Linked DNA regions of Homo sapiens: regions 2, 3, 4 and 5 are each linked to region 1. The links are contacts of gene promoters, found by promoter capture Hi-C in human tissues and cell types (Jung and others, 2019). All regions are on one chromosome and are shown on one strand. The core of a region is centred on a gene start or on the middle of the fragment in contact, and the rest is flanking DNA. Distances in the headings are between cores, read along the strand shown. Region 1 has its middle 11 kb from the start of KRTAP9-2. Region 2 holds the start of KRTAP1-1 (keratin associated protein 1-1). Region 3 holds the start of KRTAP4-7 (keratin associated protein 4-7). Region 4 holds the start of KRTAP2-4 (keratin associated protein 2-4). Region 5 holds the start of KRT33B (keratin 33B).

Evidence for each region. The method cuts DNA at HindIII sites, captures the fragments that hold promoters and counts their contacts. A contact is called where the count stands out against the background at its distance.
Region 2: a contact is called between the fragment with the promoter of KRTAP1-1 here and a fragment that was not itself captured in region 1, in 7 of the 25 tissues and cell types used here (IMR-90 fibroblasts, dorsolateral prefrontal cortex, liver and 4 more).
Region 3: the fragment with the promoter of KRTAP4-7 here is called in contact with a fragment that was not itself captured in region 1 in 3 of the 25 tissues and cell types used here (IMR-90 fibroblasts, aorta and dorsolateral prefrontal cortex).
Region 4: the fragment with the promoter of KRTAP2-4 here is called in contact with a fragment that was not itself captured in region 1 in 5 of the 25 tissues and cell types used here (adrenal gland, aorta, bladder and 2 more).
Region 5: a contact is called between the fragment with the promoter of KRT33B here and a fragment that was not itself captured in region 1, in 7 of the 25 tissues and cell types used here (H1 embryonic stem cells, bladder, lymphoblastoid cells and 4 more).

What each region holds. Positions count from the first base shown.
Region 1 is chr17:41,214,238-41,217,125 of GRCh38, reverse strand. No RefSeq gene overlaps it. Among named protein-coding and RNA genes, the nearest start is that of KRTAP9-2, 11 kb to the left of the region's middle. The HindIII fragment of the contact is 7,634 bases long and covers 1-2,888 here.
Region 2 is chr17:41,040,065-41,042,783 of GRCh38, reverse strand. KRTAP1-1 (keratin associated protein 1-1) reads left to right here and starts at 1,334. Exons shown (of 1, transcript NM_030967.3): 1 at 1,334-2,243. The coding sequence starts at 1,387. The coding sequence ends at 1,920. The HindIII fragment of the contact is 12,161 bases long and covers 1-2,719 here.
Region 3 is chr17:41,082,722-41,085,421 of GRCh38, reverse strand. KRTAP4-7 (keratin associated protein 4-7) reads right to left here and starts at 1,272. Exons shown (of 1, transcript NM_033061.4): 1 at 278-1,272. The coding sequence starts at 1,215. The coding sequence ends at 748. RefSeq lists an enhancer at 448-977. The HindIII fragment of the contact is 7,861 bases long and covers 1-2,700 here.
Region 4 is chr17:41,064,472-41,067,171 of GRCh38, reverse strand. It overlaps KRTAP2-4 (keratin associated protein 2-4), which reads left to right and starts at 1,293. Exons shown (of 1, transcript NM_033184.4): 1 at 1,293-2,056. The coding sequence starts at 1,327. The coding sequence ends at 1,713. RefSeq lists enhancers at 1,023-1,559, 1,560-2,097. The HindIII fragment of the contact is 9,926 bases long and covers 1-2,700 here.
Region 5 is chr17:41,368,347-41,371,078 of GRCh38, reverse strand. KRT33B (keratin 33B) reads left to right here and starts at 1,266. Exons shown (of 7, transcript NM_002279.5): 1 at 1,266-1,676. The coding sequence starts at 1,329. The HindIII fragment of the contact is 10,508 bases long and covers 1-2,732 here.

The DNA of each region.
Region 1 (2,888 bases), core at 56-2,555:
GGATTGGGTTTTTGCGTGGGCATCCTTTTTGTTGATATTGATGCTGTTGCTTTCTGTTTGTTAGTTTTCCTTCTAACAGTCAGGCCCCTCTTCTGCAGGTCTGCTGGAGTTTGCTGAAGGTCCACTCCAGACCCTGTTTGCCTGGGTATTGCTGCCTGCTCCTTCCTCTGGAAGCTTTGTCCCAGGGGGCACCTGCCAGATGCCAGCCGGAGCTCTCCGCTATGAGGTGTCTGTTGACCCCTGCTGGGAGGAGTCAGGAGGCATGTGGGTCAGAGACCCACCTGAGGAGGCAGTCTGTCCCTTAGCAGAGCTTGAGCGCTGTGCTGGGAGAACAGTCGATCTCTTCAGAGCCCGCAGGCAGGAACGTTTGAGTCTGCTGCTGAAGCTGTGCCCACAGCTGCCCCACCCCACAGGTGCTCTGTCCCAGGGAGATGGGAGTTTTATCTGTAAGCCCCTGAATGGGGCTGCTGCCTTTCTTTCAGAGATGACCTCCCGAGACAGGAGGAATATAGAGCGGCAGTCTGGCCACAGTGGCTTTGCTGTGCTGAGGTGGTTCCGCACCCAGTTCGAAATTCCCGGCAACTTTGTTTACACTGTGAGGGGAAAACTGCCTACTCAAGCTTTGGCAGTGGTGGGCGCCCCTCCCCGCACCAAGCTCGAGTGTCCCAGGTCGACTTCAGACTGCTGTGCTGCCAGCGAGAATTTCAAGCCAGTGAATTTTAGCTTGTTGGGTGCCTTGGGGGTGGGATCTGCTGAACAAGACCACTCGGCTCCCTGGCTTCAGCCCCTTTCCAGGGTAGTGAACAGTTTTGTGCCGCTGGCATTCCAGGCACCACTAGGATATGAAAACAACAACAACAACAACAAAGCAAAACAAAAACACAAAACTCCTACAGCTAGCTTGGTGTTTGCCCAAACAGCCACCCAGTTTTGTGCTTGAAGCCCAGGGCCGTGGTGGTGTAGGCACCCGAGGGAATCTCCTGGTCTGTGAGTTGTGAAGACCATAGAAAAGCATAGTAGCTGGACCAGATAGCACCATCCCCAGAAATACCATTTGATTCAGCAATCCCTTTACTGGATATATACCCAAAGGAATAGAAATCATTCTATCATAAAGATACATGCATGCATATGTTCACTGCAGCACTACTCACAATAGCAAAGACATGGAACCAACCCAAATGCCCATCAAGAGTAGACTGGATAAAGAAAATATGATACATGTACACAATGGAATACTATGCAGCCATAAAAAGGAACTGGATCATGTCCTTTGTAGGGACATGGATGGAGCTAGAAGCTGTTATTCTCAGCAAACTAACACAGGAACAGAAAACCAAAATGACATGTTTTCATTTATAAGTGGGAGCTGAATGATGGGAACACATGGACAAACGTTGGGGTGGGAGAACAACACATACTGGGGCCTGTTGCAGGCAATGAGAGGGAGGGCATCAGGAAGAACAGTTAATGGGTTCTGGGCTTAATACTTGGGTGATGGGTTGATCTGTGTAGCAAACCACCATGGCACATTTACCTATGTAACAAACCTGCACATCCTGCACACGTATCCCAGAACTTAAAATAAAAGTTGATAAAATAAAAAATAAATAATTTAAAAAATTTTTTAAAATTTCTGGAGACAGATGATGGTTGTCTAACAACATGAGTGTACTTACTTCCACTGAACTGTATATGTAAAAATGATTATAATTGTGGTTGGGCACGGTGGCTCACACCTGTAATCCCAACACTTTGAGAGGCTGAGGCAGGTGGATCACGAGGTAAGGTATTTGAGACCAATCTGGCCAACATAGTGAAACCCCATCTCTACTAAAACTACAAAAAATTAACCAGGCATGGTGGCACATGCCTGTAGTCCCAGCTACTCGGGAGGCTGAGGCAGGAGGATCGCTCGAACCTGGAAGGCGGAGGTTGCAGTGAGCTGAGAACGTGCCACTGCACTCCAGCCTGGGTGACAGAGCAAAATTCCATCTCAAAAATAAATAAATAAATAAAGATTATAATTGTAAATTTTATGTGTATTTTACCACAATAAAAAAACAGTAAGCCAGGAATAAAAAGTTTTGATGTGAAAACAAATTATCTCTCAAAGTTTGGGTGCAAATGAAATGTGGCCTAAGTTTTTTGGGCCATGACTTAATCTTCTATTACCATTTATTTAGGTGACCAGAAGAATGAGGACAAACAGAATGCCAATTCCATTATTTCAACAAACAAGTATTTCTAGATGAGCCTCTCACACCAAAGTCCCAGGACAGAGGCAGGAACACAATGGGTGCTCAAAAATATTTAAAGAACTTCACCAGTGCCTGACAAGAGACTGAGAATATAAAATGTTCACATGATTCACGAGGGCTCTTAAAACGAGTTGTTGCTCTTAAGATGTGGCTATTGGTTAGGGGAATGAATTTGGAAAGAACTTTGTTAGTAGAAAATGGTCTGCAAATGCGTGGAATTGGTGTTTCCATTGTCAGAGAACAACTTCGAGTGCACCCCTTCCCGGTTCTAAGTCCTTAGTATAATTCTGTAAATGTGACATCAGTAGAGGTGAAATCAGAAACCCTGAGCCTAGAGCCAATTCTGTCCATCCTTAGCTACATGACACGATGCAGGCCACTTTACTCATCTTGGTTCTGTCCAAGTTTGAGGCTTCTATGTGACTTAGATGAGATAATATATGTGAGATGCAAAACAATCACTGAAACAAAACAAAACACAACACAGGAGGCACTATAGTAAACGCTTTATTAGGAAATAAATAAAGCAATGCTCCTTTCTGCTAAGAAGATAATACAGAGTTGTCATGGAAAGTCACAAAAGTGAGTATTAATTTGAAACAAAATGATATTTATCATTGTAAAGAT
Region 2 (2,719 bases), core at 85-2,584, 170 kb after region 1:
AGATAATTTACTACATTTTTGATCTCCAACATTCATTGATTACATATAACCATTTTCAACTTCATACCTACAGTCATGGTTACCATATGACGTGAACATCTTTACTGAAGCTGGCATGAATCACATTGTGATATAACCCCATTCCTGTACAAACAAATGCCACCACCTCATAAAAAGCTAACTATGTGTTTCTATTCATGATTGGAAGGGAGAAATAAACCTACCCCAAGTAGAAATAATATGTTTTTGACCAGCCTTTTTTCATTTATCTCACGTAACCCTAAACTCCCAGTGAAAATTACATTCTTTCTTCTGGCAATGACCAGGAATTGTTTTAACTTTTATTTTGCTGAAATTTTTCTTAATCTCTTTGCATTTATTATACTACACCTCTTGAACTATATTTGGTCACCCATTTTCTAACCTGCCTTATAAAGCAGATAAAAGTATTTTCTAACTCTTGCTTTTTCTTTGATTTATTCCCTTTCCTAAATTCAGTTGTCATGCTCTTTGGTCTAATATCTTTTCACAGGACACATGGTTTAGTAACTTGAAATGACATAAATTAAAATTAAATTCTGCCTTTGAAAAATTATATGCCAGATAATCCATATACAAGTGATTTTTGTCTTTCATAGAGAAGTGTAAATTTTGTTAAAATATTTTGCAATTTTTTCCAATTACTGAATATGAATTTTAGCCTCTTTTTTAAGAGACATTGAAATTGAACAGGTTTTGTTTTATATATCCTCCTGAGTGATCAATGTTTCCTAAAATATGAATGTGAAGTTCAGGAGATATCACAGAAATTGGAAAGATTCCATTTCAGGGAAAAATCTATGAATTTCTATGAATATAGAGTTTATCAGAGTTTCTATCTGGCTAATAAGATTATATCGAGAGAGGATAATCTTATTAGTCTAAAAAATACAAAGCAGTCTTACATAAGGGCAATCATGATTAATAATTCTTTTCTGGAGACCTGAGGTTTGGTGAATATGATCTCCAAAATCACATCACCTTATGGGTGAGAGTCACTTTGTCAGGTGATATACCCACAAGTGCAAACCTGAAGCTGAAGCTCAAGTGGAAATTATACCATTGTTTGTAAACAAAATGTTAACATTTTTACCAAGGACAAACACATTTGGTGAGTATTAGCTGAGCAATAAGGAAAAATCAATTTTGAGATATATTTAAAACAATTCAGCATTTGAACCATCAGAGGGCCCTAGAAAGGCTGGTTTAAAGAGTAACAAGATAAAAATGTTGCTCGCCACAAATAGAGGAATTGGCCCAGACTTATAAAAAGCCGGCAGTGGAATAGGCAGCCATAATTCAGAAACTCCTCCAAGCAACCCAACCTTCAGATCAACTCCTGACACCATGGCCTGCTGTCAGACCAGCTTCTGTGGATTTCCCAGCTGCTCCACCAGTGGGACCTGCGGCTCCAGCTGCTGCCAGCCAAGCTGCTGTGAGACCAGCTCCTGCCAGCCACGCTGCTGTGAGACCAGCTGCTGCCAGCCAAGCTGCTGCCAGACCAGCTTCTGTGGATTTCCTAGCTTCTCAACCGGTGGGACTTGTGACTCTAGCTGCTGCCAGCCAAGCTGCTGTGAAACTAGCTGCTGCCAGCCAAGCTGCTACCAGACCAGCTCCTGCGGAACTGGCTGTGGCATTGGTGGTGGCATTGGCTATGGCCAGGAGGGCAGCAGTGGAGCTGTGAGCACCCGTATCAGGTGGTGCCGCCCAGACTGCCGTGTGGAGGGTACCTGCCTGCCCCCCTGCTGCGTGGTGAGCTGCACACCCCCATCCTGCTGCCAGCTGCACCACGCCGAGGCCTCCTGCTGCCGCCCATCCTACTGTGGACAGTCCTGTTGCCGCCCAGTCTGCTGCTGCTACTGCTCTGAGCCCACTTGTTGAAAACCTCCTTCTGCTGGGGATCCTGATAAGATGGCACCTTAAAACTAGCCAAATTAGAATCCTAACAATCTTCTGAACTCCAGTACCTATAACTGGGCTTGCAACCTCTCATCACACAGCCACATAAATTCCCTAGGAAGTAAATTCATTTACAATGGAAGACCAAAAATTTTTCCTAGACCTGGTTGTCAGCCAAAGTCCTACAATGTGAAAAGAGTTAGATACTATTTTACTATAAATATCACCTGAAATATTTCAACAGTTATTGGGACTTAAATTTAATAAAAGTTTTCATCTCTTCAATGATGAAGTTGTTGTTTGAACTTTCTTTGCTTTGGAATTTATTAACAATATTGGGGTACTGGGATTTTTCAAAATATCAACATGACATGACACTATGGTTTTTCTGTACTTTTGCTCTTTTAATGATGATATTTAACAGCAATTTTCCTTTGTTTTACCATTAAATGGTCCAATATTTTGCAGCCAAGACATATGATTAAAGGAACTTGACAACATTTAGGAACTGTTTCCTAAGGTCCTCTCATGTGCAAAGTGGTGGGCTAGGTATTCCAACAGATTGATTCAGCTTCTTGAGGTTTTGCCAAATCTATTCATTCATCCATTCATATATGAGGTTGTATACAATTATTTCTGTCCTCCAAGATATACAAAAGCATAATAAAAATTGTGAAAGAATACAAACACAAGATTACAGAGTAATAGCATGTAACGAATATACACATTTCATTCAAGGTCTAGGCTCATAACTCCCATAGCCCTTTTATTGATGTTAGGG
Region 3 (2,700 bases), core at 23-2,522, 130 kb after region 1:
GTATTGTGAGATATAATGTGTTCATGATAAAATGTGTTTCAAGAGCTAAGGCATGAATTAAATGTCTTAATTTAGAATATTAAGACACATGTGCACATACACACACATATACACACAGCACTTTTATTCCAATACCTTAAATTATCTATATTTGATATAGAATGTATCTTCAAAATGATTTCAAGACGGGTTGCTCCTCCTGTGTCTTTGTGTAAAATATAATTGCCAGGGAATCAGTAAAATAATTATGAAAGCAATAGAGAATGATACCAATGAATTCTTAAGTGCAGAAAAGTTTATTAGAAAGCAGAGATACAACAAAGCATAAGAAATTCACCCTAGGAGAAACACAGAATACAATTGGGTGGCTGGATCTGAGGGTGCAACATCAGTGACAAAACTGGTCCTGCAGATAATATCTACCTCACTGAGAAGGAGAATCTGTACCTTAAAGTGATAAAGAAAATAAGGAAATCAGAAGATTGGAATAATTTCTTAGCTAGTGTATTACAAATTAATTCACATTTGGTGCCACCACCAGAAGAAAAAGAAAGCAAAGGAGGGAGTTTAAAATGAACCAGAATGTTCTCACAGAGTCAGTGAAATGGTGGTGGGCTCTTTGGAAGCATAAGGTCCATCCTATTGAATGACATCAACCCCACTTCATGTATCCTAATGGTCAGCACAGTAGAAGGGTCTACATCTGTGGGCCAGTGGTGAAGGGGGACGTGAGCCAGGGCAGTGGGCTCAGCAGCAAGAGGAGGCACAGCACAAGGGGCGGGGACAGGTGGAGATGACACAGGTTGGGCGATAGCAAGTGGTGTGGCAGGAGACTCGGCCACAGACTGGACGCAGGCAGCAGCAGGGGCGGCAGCAGCTGGGGCGGCAGCAGGTGGGCTGGCAGCACACAGACTGGCAGCACTGGGGCTTGCAGCAGCTGGACATACAGCAGCTGGGGCGGCAGCAGCTGGAGATGCAGCACCTAGGGTGGCAGCAGGTCGTCTCACAGCAGGTGGGGCGACAGCAGGTGGGTTGGCAGCACACAGACTGGCAGCACTGGGGCCTGCAGCAGCTGGACACACAACAGCTGGGGCGGTAGCAGGTGGTCCTGCAACAGGTGGTCTGACAGCAGCTGGGGCGGCAGCAGGTCTCCTGACAGAGGTCTTGGCTGCAGCCCTGGTCAGAGCACACGGAGCCACAACAGGAGCTGACCATGGTGTCAGAACGGGGAGGATCTGGGTGGGTTTCCAAGAGAGTGAAGTTCTTGGGTTTGGAAGTCTTCTGGGTCCATAGCCTCCTTTATACCCTGCTGAAGGCCCATTGCCACCACGTCATTATTTCCTTATTATTTACCTCGTGGAAAACTTAATCATGTAATTACATAATTGTGTGTTTCTACTTAAATACTCCAAAAGAGAGAAAATAACCCATTTCCTTTTCCTGCTGTGCTCCTGTGTTTCTATTGGAAACACTTGTCATATTTCTTCCTTAGTGGGGGTCACCTTTGTCCCTGGTCTCTGCAGTGTCTTTTACAAAGCACTGGTCACATGACTCTGACACTTTATTTCTAAATGTGATTCTCCCTCCTACCTGTAGATTGCTCTCTGCAAATCATGGGGGACAACTTTTATAATGTTAATGTGTCTTTTGTTGTCAAATAATGTCCTGGTCAGATGAAATGTTGGAAAGGAATTAGAAGGAAGGACTCATTCGGGAGAAGGATGTCCCATCTATAATGAAGATGACTCTGATTCCGTGTATGCTTCTTGAATGGTTGGGGAGATGGTCAGATCTTAAGGAAGTTATAAACTCTGTGTCAGATCTCATTCCACCACTCCAAGTGAAAGTACTTAGCCATGACTCATTGCCTTTAATGAGTAAAAACACATTTTTCTGTATGTCTTACAGTATAGGCATTTGGAGTAGGAAGTTTTGATTTACCTTTGATCATCAAAACTGCATGATGGATTATTCATTGACAAAAGCATTTGTTATATGTAAACAATATTTAGAATTATTAAGCCTTCAATAATATGCATCCAAGACATTCTATTGGGTACTCTGGGTATAGAACAGATAAACCCTCCTCTTTTTCCTGCAGGTACTTGTATAAGACACATGCATAAGAAACAGAATTTGGCAAAAATGAAAAGAATTACAATTATGTTCATTAAACAACTAAAATAAAAATGTATAGTATGTGGATAAGTTCCATACATCCTCAGGGTATGTATATTACTTGTGAAGTATTGACTATGTACCAGACATTGTGCTAAATATCTTTTTCATTTTCACTCTTTATTACAACCTTATAAAGTAGTGTACATTCTTATTGCTCTTTTAGCAGAATACTCAAAAGAAGCATTAAAAAGCTAAAACAAACAAACAAAATGCTTGTCCAAGATTAAAGAGAAAGTAAGCCTAATATGTCTTAGTGTAGCCAAGAAAGTGGTAAAGAACAAAATTTGCTAAGCTTGCTGAAACTGCTTCATCTTCTTGGAATGTGTCGTCTTTTTTTGTCCACTCTGCAAACTCCTACTCATTTGTCAAAACCCAGTTAAATATTTCCTCCTCAGTAATATCTTTCCTGATAAACTACCCCATTCATTTATCATTATTTCCTGCCTTGTGCTCATAATGTGATACATTCTACTGTATCATAGACGTTTACTTCTTTCATTCCCCCATATGCAATGCAAA
Region 4 (2,700 bases), core at 44-2,543, 150 kb after region 1:
CACCCTTGTATGTAAGTTCCACTAATAAACCCTGCATCATGTTAGCTTTCTCCAGGTCCCTTCTCTAGCTCTCAGACACATTGTCATACTTAGTGGAGTCAATGGGGGTCCAGGATGACAATGTGTCATCTGGGCAAAACATTTCCCTAATTCTCTTCCAGTACCACTTCTAACCTTGCTGCTGAAAGGAAAGTTCATTACTTATTTTTTTAAATCTGTGTTTAATATGTATAAATGTAAGAGGTTCAAATGCAGCATTGTTACATGGATATATTGCATAGTGGCATGAAGTCTGGGCTTCTACTTTAATATATGTTTTCTTTCCTGTCTAAAGACCATGGTTTACTGAATCCAATGAGCATAAAACTCATAGTAGAGGCTACTTACTGCAGACTGAGGAGACCTGGATCTCAGACCTCATATGGTGACCTCATTGTGTGACCTTGGTACACTCTCAGGACCTCAGCTGTAGAGTGAGGGCATAGGCCTACATATTCTCCGCAATCCCTTCCCGGACTCTACAGATGCAACGACTAATTCCAAACAAATTACAAATATAATAATTGCAATGGATCCTTGAAGAGGGTTTTACAATCAAGGTAGAAGTTGAGTTTGGATTGGAAGGATGAGGAGGGCATTCCAGGTGAATGATGACACATCAAAACCAAGGCAGGAAAGCCCAGGTCCTAGTCAGGGGAGAGTGACCACACCAGTGGCCAGGGATCTGCATTTCGTGTGGTCCCTGCTCATATGAAAAACCACAAGCCTATCTTTAAGTGAGTCATGGAAGGAGCTATCTGTGAAGCAGATGACTACTGGTCTGCACTAGGATGATGCAATTAACCTGCTACCATCATGCCCATGTGCATTAATAAGGCAAGTCACTGCTTGGGTGCCGGTGATGGGAGCCTTTGAAGACAAGGAAGAACATGCTAATTTTAGCGCCAAAGGGCAGAGCGATTAGACACTAATTTAGAAAACACATTCTTTTCTCTCTTATGGGTTAGGAATATTTCAAAGGAAAATTAATCAGAAGTGAATCCAATGTCTAAATTTAGTGAGGATAAACAATACAAGAAAATGAGCGAATATTTGTGGTGTATGTACATGAATATGTATGAGGTGAAGAGTGACCAAAATACCATTAGTCAATGCTAAATCTTCACTTAATTGGCCAGAAGATGCACAAGAAAATGATCATATGTTGAAGGGTCATCAGCTCCCAGCCAGGGTATATAAAGGGCCCAGAGGGGGAGGAGGACATTCACACCTGAGAACATCCAGCTCCTCTCAATAGCCCAACCCACACCAGCCTCAGACACCACCATGACCGGCTCCTGCTGCGGCTCCACCTTGTCCTCCCTGAGCTACGGGGGAGGCTGCTGCCAGCCCTGCTGCTGCCGCGACCCCTGCTGCTGCCGCCCCGTGACCTGCCAGACCACCGTGTGCCGCCCCGTGACCTGCGTGCCCCGCTGCACGCGCCCCATCTGCGAGCCCTGCCGCCGCCCGGTGTGCTGCGACCCCTGCTCCCTGCAGGAAGGCTGCTGCCGCCCCATCACCTGCTGCCCCTCGTCGTGCACGGCTGTGGTGTGCAGGCCCTGCTGCTGGGCCACCACCTGCTGCCAGCCTGTGTCTGTGCAGTCCCCCTGCTGCCGGCCCCCCTGCGGCCAGCCGACCCCTTGCAGCACCACCTGCAGGACCTCCTCCTGCTGAGACCCCAATGCCCCCACAGAGCAATACACTGAAGCCTAAACATCTATCTGGTGTTTTTAAAAAGTTAAAAGAAAAATAGATTTTTTTTCACAAGGTGACAATAGTGATTTTTACCATCTGGATACAGCCTGGTGTAAGCAGACGTCCATTACCACCCTCACCCACATTTTCAGGTGTCTACATCAGCCTTAGTCATTATGGATAGTAAATCGACCTTTAAGAATTCCTGGGGTGGACTTTGCAAACACATTCTACAACCTGATGGTTTTTACTGCTCAAACTGTCACCATCATCTTTTGCAATGTGTTGCTCACTGTTGTCAATAAACTAATTTTTCCTGGCATAGCAGACTGCCCTGCTCCCTGATTTGTTCGTTAGTGCATGTTTATTAGCGTACACAGATAAGCAAGATTTTGGAACCTGCACAAGGGAAACAAAGCTCAACCTAAGCAAAACCTTATCCATAGAAATCTCATCTATTCAGTCATTCAGGAATTGTTTATCAAGGGACCTCCAGTTGACAGGTGCTGCCTGATTAGTGATGAACAAGCTACATGCCTTGTATCCAAGAAGCTTATGGTCTAATGGAATAGACAAAAGGAAAGACAATGTTCATGAAGAGGGGTAGAAGTGGGAATAGCATATGCCAAGCCCAGAATGACCACTGGTAGTAAACTGACCAGCACAGCGCATCTCATCTTCTTACCACAGTTCCTAGAGTAGCATTTTTCAAAGTGTGGCCCATGCGTCATACACAATAGAATCTCTTGCAATTGCCTATTAAAATGCACATTCTTAGGCCCCAAACCAAACCTAATGAATCAAAATCTCTGGGAGTGGGGCCCAAGGCTGTTTATTTTCTATCACTTCCATGTAATTCATTAGAATTTCAGGACCATTATTTCAGAGGAAGACCAGGATTTGAGCTCCTTGAGGGCTTAACAAGCATGGCCTGGAAGCCTTCCAAGAATAGTCACAAGGACAAGC
Region 5 (2,732 bases), core at 17-2,516, 150 kb before region 1:
GCATCTGCTTGCCAAAATGTGCCAATGGTCATAAAATGCCACTTCATGCACATGACATAGTGGTGGATTTTCAGGGTCATATCCTTTGGAGAGCTAGGCTTGGGTATTTCTCCCTCAGATCAACCAAGGGTTTCCTTTTTTTTTTTTTTTCAAGCTTCTAGTGGGTATGAGGCATTTTCACTTAGTAAACTTCCTTCCTTCAGCATAGAAGTGACTTTTGGTTCTTTAATAAGTAAAAAACAGGCTTGTTATTTTTTGGCCCATTCTAATTTAGGATATTGTCAGCACTGATTGAGCTCAATGGAGCTCAATCTGTATTTTTTGCATTATTGCATCTCAGTACTGAAAAGATTGGAAGAGAGAGACATGTAATATGACAGAGTGTGGACATTGGAATTAGAGAGATCTGTATTTGAACCCTGGCTCCATCATGTAGGAGCTCTGTGACCTTGGGAGACCTCTCAGAGGCTTAGGGTCCTTATCTACAAACCCTTGCAGCATTTTGAGAGGACTGAAGGAGCTGGTGCATATGAGGTGCCTGGCACTGTGCCTGGTGCACAGTGGAGGCTCAGCAAGCAGGACCCATCACCAATGACAGAGTCACGCTGTGCACAGGCATGGAGCACAGTGCTTCATGCAGAGTAGGTGCTCCCAAAATTTAGGTTTCTTAATGTTCTGTGAACACTGAATACTAGTAGAAACGGAGGTGGGTGGCTTCCTGCAGCCCCATAGGAAGAGGGTAGAGTTGCCTCCATCTGCCTGGATGGAACTGCAAATGGGCCTTGAACCAATGGCCTTGTAAGTCCTTTCTCATTTCAGCTTCCAGGATTCCCTATCACATAGTCTAGTTTCTAGACGGGTTTCCTTACATGGCTTTTCTCACAGAGTCTTAATTGAATATGAACTGGATGAGACACAAGCCTTTCCTCATTTAGGAGAAAGAGGCACATATGTGCCCCCTACTCTGGGGACAGGGCCCAGCTGTCACTCTAGCTCAATGTCCCATGGATAAGCACTGCTACAGGCAAGGTTGGTCACTTTGAAGCCAAACCATGAAGCTCTTACTTAACCAATCAGCATGTTTTGTGAGGAGTCCTGACTTAGCAAGAAGCCAGAGTAAAACATTTAATGAGGTATAGGACTCAGGTGAAGTGGCTAAATAACAAATGGAAAAATCAGCAAAGGAGGTAAAAAGGAGGAATACTTGACATGGTTGCCACACCCACTGCTAACAGAATATAAAGCCCTGGAAAGGACCAAGGCTTATCCCAGGGAAAAGGAATCAGGTTTTGAAACTGACTTCCAGAGCTCCACTGCCTCCCTGCACCATGCCCTACAACTTCTGCCTGCCCAGCCTGAGCTGCCGCACCAGCTGCTCCTCCCGGCCCTGTGTGCCCCCCAGCTGCCACGGCTACACCCTGCCCGGGGCCTGCAACATCCCTGCCAATGTGAGCAACTGCAACTGGTTCTGCGAGGGCTCCTTCAATGGCAGCGAGAAGGAGACTATGCAGTTCCTGAACGACCGCCTGGCCAGCTACCTGGAGAAGGTGCGTCAGCTGGAGCGGGACAACGCGGAGCTGGAGAACCTCATCCGGGAGCGGTCTCAGCAGCAGGAGCCCTTGCTGTGCCCCAGCTACCAGTCCTACTTCAAGACCATTGAGGAGCTCCAGCAGAAGGTGAGGAGGTGGGCACCACACTGCCAGCTTAATGAACTACTTATCTATATTTGACATACTAAACTGTGAATGGATCTAAGTCTGTTCACAGTAATGCTGAGAATGATAAAGACATAGATTCACTGGCTTAGGTATGACATCAAGTAGTCTTAGAAAATCTGTTGTAGAGCCACAAAGGAAGGATGCAGGCTGGTGTTAGAGTGAAGCATTAGACCAAAATCAGTCATAGCAATCTTATATGGCGTCTTACTCCAAACCAGAATATCTGATTTTTTGGTTTGATTATGATACCCTGGTTTTGTTTTCAGAGCATTACCGCATTTTCAAAAAGTATGCACCTGAATTATTTTCTATGCTAAGAATTTCCTAAGTAAATCTTCAAATATTTAAAGCCTTTCAAAGCTGTAGCAAAATATAGCATTTATGGCAACACAAGAGAGCTGTTGACTCCAGCAATATCTACAGACACATGGACCATCCTCTAGAGCAGCCATGTGTACAGATGACAATATGGGGCCATCTGTTCTGGAAGAGAAGTAGATATAAGTAAAGAGTCCACAGAGAATTGGGACTGAATACCTGGTGTAGGTTTGGGAGGGATCCCAGAAGAGGCAATGTCTGAGTGGGGTTTGAAGGATGAGTGGGAGTTTATATCCAATTGTACAAGCCCTTGATTCTGGGAGGGAATTGACTGCCCACTGTTCTGTAGATCTGGAAAATTAGATGCCAGAAAGGGGTTGTGCTATTTGAATATCATTCATTTATTTACCCAGAGTTGGAGAGTGTTAGGCACAGTGCTGGGGTGGGGGATAATGTACTGAGTAAGACAGTCTCCTTCCTTCAGGAGCTCACAGTCTAACAGGGGAGATAGATGTGGAAACAAAATGATCACACAAAGGTCATAAGAAGTGTTATTGATTAAGTATGTGGGTTACACAAGGGGTCTTGCTAGTGGGTGAGGGCATTCTGGGTACAGCAAGAAGCTTTTTGCAAAGGCATGAACAAGGGCAATATGAGGGGAGAGTGGAGAGAAGTTAGCAGGTGGAATGTGTTGGA